Linked DNA regions of Homo sapiens: region 2 is linked to region 1. Evidence: promoter capture Hi-C in 16 types of primary human blood cells and fetal thymus (Javierre and others, 2016). All regions are on one chromosome and are shown on one strand. The core of a region is centred on a gene start or on the middle of the fragment in contact, and the rest is flanking DNA. Distances in the headings are between cores, read along the strand shown. Region 1 holds the start of GPR17 (G protein-coupled receptor 17). Region 2 overlaps ERCC3 (ERCC excision repair 3, TFIIH core complex helicase subunit).

The links. The method cuts DNA at HindIII sites, captures the fragments that hold promoters and counts their contacts. A CHiCAGO score of 5 or more calls a contact.
Region 2: a contact is called between a fragment that was not itself captured here and the fragment with the promoter of GPR17 in region 1, in 1 of 17 cell types (neutrophils). The highest score is 5.2, in neutrophils.

Annotation. Positions count from the first base shown.
Region 1 is chr2:127,644,370-127,647,562 of GRCh38, reverse strand. It overlaps GPR17 (G protein-coupled receptor 17), which reads right to left and starts at 1,410. Exons shown (of 2, transcript NM_001161417.2): 1 at 1,319-1,410. The region is part of intron 4 of LIMS2 (LIM zinc finger domain containing 2); the gene reads left to right. The HindIII fragment of the contact is 22,539 bases long and covers 1-3,193 here.
Region 2 is chr2:127,285,297-127,288,479 of GRCh38, reverse strand. It overlaps ERCC3 (ERCC excision repair 3, TFIIH core complex helicase subunit), which reads left to right. Exons shown (of 15, transcript NM_000122.2): 8 at 1,463-1,777. Among named protein-coding and RNA genes, the nearest start is that of ERCC3, 7.3 kb to the left of the region's middle. The HindIII fragment of the contact is 1,319 bases long and covers 591-1,909 here.

The sequences.
Region 1 (3,193 bases), core at 161-2,660:
TGCTGTGCCCCACAGTGCAGGCATCACCTGGCCCCACGAGAGAGCAGCTCATAGGTACGACTGACCACTCTGCCTGGCATGGTGGGGGCCTGCCTGTGCTGGCTCAAACCAGTTTTAGCCCCATGTTGCAGGTTAGGGAGTCAAGGCTGAGTGTCTGCTAACTTGTCTTAGGTCACTTGACCAGGGGACATTGGCCCTGGAGCTGGAAGTGAGACCGGGGAAACGGTCTCACTCCCTGGAAGACCGCCAGGGTGGGGAGTGTGACTCAGTCTCAGAGTTTGCCATGGAGTTGTCTCCCAGGCTCAGCACCCCCTCCTGGCCCTGGGGCCACTCCCTCATTTTAGGGGCCCATGTATGAAATGAGAATGTGCAGCCCCTTGCTCAAAAAGGAAGAGTTTCAGGACAGTGACGGCAGAGTGTTACTGGGCTCAGGGCCCTGAGTGACGGCAGGGGTGGCATATCTCATGGCACCAGGTGGGCCTGTGGTGCCTCCTGCCTCCAGCCCGGGGGCCTCAGCCTGGGCACTGCCCTCCACTTCCTGCCCGGGCCGAAGGGCGTGCCCCTCGCTCTCTCTGGGACTGAGACTCCATTTTAAACAGCTTTCTGGTTGGTTTCAGGTTTGCTGAGGTTTCTTCTCCCTTTCTGTCCCCCGTTTGAGGAGTTCTGATACTGATTGTTGCAGTTTGGTCTGAGATGGGCCCCGCTTCACTCTCTGTTGCCCTTTAGAAACACAAACTTCAGTCTAGACTCGCTGGTTCCTCACGACTCACTGGTCAGACGGCCACCGAGCCGGTGTCCGTAAGAGGAAAGGGCGTGGCATGGGCCGGGGCCTGGGCAGTGTTGGGTCCCGTGGCTGTGGGTGAGTCGAGCATCTAGGACAGGTCATAGGCCTCTGTGGAGGTGGCAGGTGGGCATGTGTGGCCTCGGGGAGGGCCTGTGGTGGCAGCGCCATGGCCAGGTGGTGGCAGTTTCCTTTGCATTAGCGCCACTCCATCCCTGGCCCGAGCCCTCTCCCAGGCATCTGGCTCCTCTATGGGTCAAGGCTGCCTAATGGTTAGGGGCAGCGGTGCTGTCATTGCAGCCTGGACTGCCGGCAAGCCACTTCCCCTCTGCAAGCCCCCATCAGAGGGACGAAACACCGCTTTGTGGGCTGCTGTGAATTCAGACTGTGGTCAGCCTTCGATGCACAGGTCAGACCATCACCAAAGAGATGGGACGAGACAGGCTGCTGCCTGTCTCCCTGGGCAGGGCTCCCCGCTGAGTGTTTCCTCTGCTTAGCCCTGGGCTCCCAGTCCACCCCACCCAGCCTGCCCCTTACCTCTAGCTGCTGGTCCGGGAGGAAGGGACAGGGGTCTGCGGGGCAGCAGGTGATCTCCGCCCGTGGGTGTCGGTGGTGGCAGGGGGCTCCTTGCCGCTGTGGGTGGAACGCTGGCTATTTAAGGAGAGGAAGGGAGACCACAGCCCCTCTGGCCCTGAAAGGCTGCTTCATTCCTGAGGGGTCCCTTGTTGTGTCGGGCTGCTCCTCTGGCTGCTGCTGCTGCTGCCACCGGAGCGTGAATATTCTAGTGTGTCCCTAGCCCATGCCCCCCGCCCCCAGCTTGGCCACATAGTCTGAGTGTGTGACTGTCTCAGAGACTCAGAGCAGGCGGGGGCTGGGTGGGGGGCTTGGGCTGGAGCTGAGGGACACAACAGGACGTTTCAGAAGGGGATGATTTCCTACTGATGGGGGGCAGGGAGGGGCCGGCTGTCATGGCAACAGGCGGCGCTCCCAGGCCTGCGCCCGCAGACGGCGGAGGGGGCCTGTGAACGGAGGGTGGGAGGCCGAGGAGTCTTGCTCACGGAGTGAGAGGCGACTCTTTGAGGACACTTGCTGTAGGGTCCTTGTGTCCTGCCCTGTATAATGAGGCCCCATTTGGGCACACAGAATAAATCATGGCCTTTATCTGGAGCGAGGAACAGCTGCAGGAGCCTCATAATGGGGCGCTGTCCTGTCCGTGAGGATGCGGCTCAGCTCAGAGGCCGGGTGCTCGCCGGTGCAGCTCCCCTTCTGCACGGAAGCCCATGAATCTGACCGCTGGCCTGGGGCTCCTCCCTGGGGTGGCTCCGGGCTGGGGTGCCTTTGAATGCTGCCGGCGGCCGCCTCTGAGACTGAGTGAACAAAGTTCATTTCTCTCTGTCTTTCTGAAAATGATACATCCAGCAACATGGGAAACCAAATCACCCTTCCTGGTTTCAAAAGACTTTACATTTTGTTGTTTAAACATTGAAAACTGTATGTATGTGGCTAGCATTTAAGGGGCAGTGTCTTAAATTTGTCTCTTCACATCACCCTGTGCAGCTGGGATTATTGCCCCATTTTACAGACAAGGAAACTGAGGCTCAGGCAAATGAAGAAACTCACCCATCAACAAACAGTAGGAAGCAACAGAGCCAGGATTTGAACCCAAGCACATGTCACTCCAGAACTTAGGCTCCGTGTGTGTGTGTGTTTTGTTTTTCTGCTGCATTTTGAATTTAGAATTCTTAGATTTGATCCTAATTCAACCTGAAAAAGAATTCTGAAGGCCACCTTTAGATCTGATGCTGTGATCTGGTCTGTTGAGAAGCTGTTTCCCATCTGGACTTCCTTCAAGAGAGATGGGCTTCCCAGTTTGTCTGGCCTGAGAGCCAGCTGGGTGTGAGGTGTCTGAGCCGGGGCGCAGGTCTCTTTCCTGTTGTGCCCGCAGGCGGCTGTCTGGAAGAACTGGCCCAGGCTGGTTGGAAAGGTGGTGGCTTGAAGCTAACCACCCTGAGCAGGGCATTTCTGGGCTCACAGACCTTCTGTTATTGGGGTGATCACTGTCGATGGCTTCAAGGGCATTGACCGTGGTGATGGAGTTTTGAGGCGTTGAGCTGATTCCTGCATCTTTGAGACAGAAATAATTCCTCGTGGGTTGAGTGTTGTCCTGACGCTCAGGAGGAGTCACCAGAATGTGGAGTGGGGTCATGGGGCCTACATGCTGAGTCTGGGACAGAGGCACCGCAGGGGGCATGGGCTGGCCGCCATAGGCGCCAGGTGGGGCAGCTCAGCCCCAGACCTGCTGAGGAGGTGGCCTGGGGTTGGGGCTGGGGCACAGGTGTCTGGGCAAGGGTGGGCTTCAGGGATTGTGGTGATGAAGACTGAAGCCACAGGCCACAACTGCTTCCCGTCGCT
Region 2 (3,183 bases), core at 1-2,500, 360 kb after region 1:
GGACACTGGGGGTATTATGGTGGCTAGAACAACACTTCTGACCTCATGGAGCTCACTCTTCTGGGGAAGAGACAGATGGTAAGCAGATGTGTACAACCTTGGGTGGTGCTAGAGTCAGCGAAGAAAAATTAGAGCACATGAGGGGTGAGATTGTAATGATGGCAAGGGGCTGTTGCACTTAGTGGGGTTAGGTTCTTGTTCTTGAATCAGCCTTAGGGGTTGTGTATTTGGAGACTCCCTAGCGCAGAAACTTTGGTGTTCCTGGATGACTAGGATGGTGTGCAGGTCCAGGGAAAGGCAGGAGTGGCCCCCTGGGCACCTGTTTGACCACTTATCCCAGTAGTGTCAGGTCCTAGCCTAGCTTCTTGGCCAGAGACCACAGCAGACTCACCTTGGGACCCCACTGAGGACTTACAGAGGCAAGGTCTTCAGGGAAGGGGAGGTTCTTTTTTTCCAAAACTCCAAGGGTTATTTTGATGTTGTTTTCCTTTTTTATTTCACTTTACAAATTTTTTTTATTTACGTTTATTCCTGGTAACTCACAGTGTATTTTTATAATAAAGGAAGGATCTCTGTTTAATGGAAAAGCTTGATTTTTCTCTTGATCTTCAAATGGTGGATGGTAGTAAACTCAGAAGCTCCTGGAATTTCATTTTCTCTGTACACACATAGCGCATCCCTGAATTCTCAGCCCCGTTTGCTGTGTAATAATAATAGTGGTCTTTTGCCGAGTGCCTCCTTCTGTGGGCCAGGCATGCTGGGACCCAGTAGCTTCACTGTCCCGTGGCTGTGGGCAAGGTAAAGTACTCCTCAGCTTTAGTTTTTCAATCTTTCTTTTTTCTTTTTGAGACAGAGTCTTGCTCCGTTGCCCATGCTGGAGTGTAGTGGCGCCATCTTGGCTCACCACAACCTCCGCCTACTGGGTTCAAGATATTCTCCTGCCTCAGCCTCCCAAGTGACCGGGATTATAGGCGCCCGCCACCATGCCCGGCTAATTTTTTGTATTTTTAGTAAAGATAGGGTTTCACCATGTTGGCCAGGCTGGTCTTGAACTCCTGACCTCATGTGATCTACCCACCTCGGCCTCCCAAAGTGCTGGGATTACAGGTATGAGCCACCGTGGCATGGTGGCTCAGCCAGGTTTTTCTATCTTTAAAATAACAATAACAGGCATTTCTCTTCTCACTGGTTTGTTTTGAGATTTTGACATTTAAATGAGATGTGTGTAAAGTGCTACAGTAGGCCCCAGCGCCTGCCATTTCTCACATATGTATGTGAAGTGGGCATGTCTCCTCATTATAAAGAAGAAAACAGGCTGGAGCAGTGTGTGTCGCTCAGATGTCAGCTATGTGGACTGTTACAAGACATTTTCCTAGATTGCTGTACTTGTGAGTCATTCTGCCTGTCCCTGTCCTTCATTTCAACCTGTCCTTGGGTGGGATTGCACTCTTGTTTCTTGTAGGTGCTGGAAAGTCCCTGGTTGGTGTGACTGCTGCATGCACTGTCAGAAAACGCTGTCTGGTGCTGGGCAACTCAGCTGTTTCTGTGGAGCAGTGGAAAGCCCAGTTCAAGATGTGGTCCACCATTGACGACAGCCAGATCTGCCGGTTCACCTCCGATGCCAAGGACAAGCCCATCGGCTGCTCCGTTGCCATTAGCACCTACTCCATGCTGGGCCACACCACCAAAAGGTCCTGGGAGGCCGAGCGAGTCATGGAGTGGCTCAAGACCCAGGAGTGGGGCCTCATGATCCTGGATGAAGTGCACACCATACCAGGTAAGCAGGCTGGAGCTGAGCTGTCCACTTGCTGAACAGACAAACCAATTTCCAGTTGTTAGGTTGGGAAAGGGACTGCTGTGTAGCCCACCCAACTGGCTAGAAAGACTTGCTGGCTTGCTGGGTAAAGCTTTTAATAGTTCTTTTTTTTTTTTTTGAGAGGGAGTCTCACTCTGTCACCCAAGCTGGAGTGCAGTGGCACGATCTCAGCTCACCACAACTTCCACCTCCCAGGTTCAAGCAGTTCTCTGCCTCAGCCTCTGAGTAGCTGGGATTACAGGCACCTGCCACCATGCTAGGCTAATTTTTGTATTTTTGTAGAGACAGGGTTTCCCCATCTTGGCCAGGCTGGTCTTGAACTCCTGACCTCGTGATCCACCCACCTCATCCTCCCAAAGTGCTGGGATTACAGGCGTGAGCCACCGTGCCCGGCCAGTAATTCTTAAGTGGGATGCAGGCAGGAGTGTTCACATTCACAGTTTGCTTAATCACTGGCTCAGTAGTGATTTAGAAAATGATATTTTCTTTCCTCCATCTTCCTTTTGCTGCTCAGCTTCATCCGTTTTTTAATGGCCCTCTAAAAACTGGGTTAGGAGCACTGAAAAGCCCTTCCCAAAATGGTGGTGATGTGTTTTATTTGAAGCCCGGAATATTGATCCTTAGTCAATATGTAATAGAAGCCCTACTTCTCCAAGTATCATGGGCAAACCTTTTTTTTTTAAGCTGCTCTATTGATTTAATTTATATACCATAAAATCACCCCTTGTAAATATATAATCCAATGAGTTTTAGTAAATTTGTGGACCAGTGCAACCATGACCATGATCCAAGTTTTCTTTTCTTTTTTTTTTTGAGATGGCATCTTGCTTTGTTGCCCAGGCTGGAGTGCAGTCGTGTGATCTTGGCCCACTGCAACCTCCGCCTCTAGGGTTCAACTGATTCCCCTGCCTCAGCCTCCCAAGTAGCTGGGACTACAGGTGTGTACTACCACACCCGGCTAATTTTTTTTTATTTGAGACAGTTTCGCTCTTGTTGCCCAGGCTGGAGTGCAGTGGTGCAATCTCAGCTCACTGGAAGCTCTGCCTCCCGGGTTCAAGTGATTCTCCTGCCTCAGCCTCCCGAGTAGCTAGGATTACAGGTGTGCGCCACCATGCCCAGCTAATTTTATATTTTTAGTAGAGACAGGGTTTCTCCGTGTTGGTCAGGCTGGTCTCAAACTCCTGACTTCAGGTGATCCGCCCACCTCAGCCTCACCCTGGGATTACAGGCGTAAAGTACCACACCTGGCCAAATTTTTGTATTTTTAGTAGAGAAAGGGTTTCGCCATGTTAGCCAGGCTGGTCTTGAAGTCCAGACTTTAAGTGATCTGCCTGCTTGGGCCTCCCAAAGTACTGGGATTATAGACG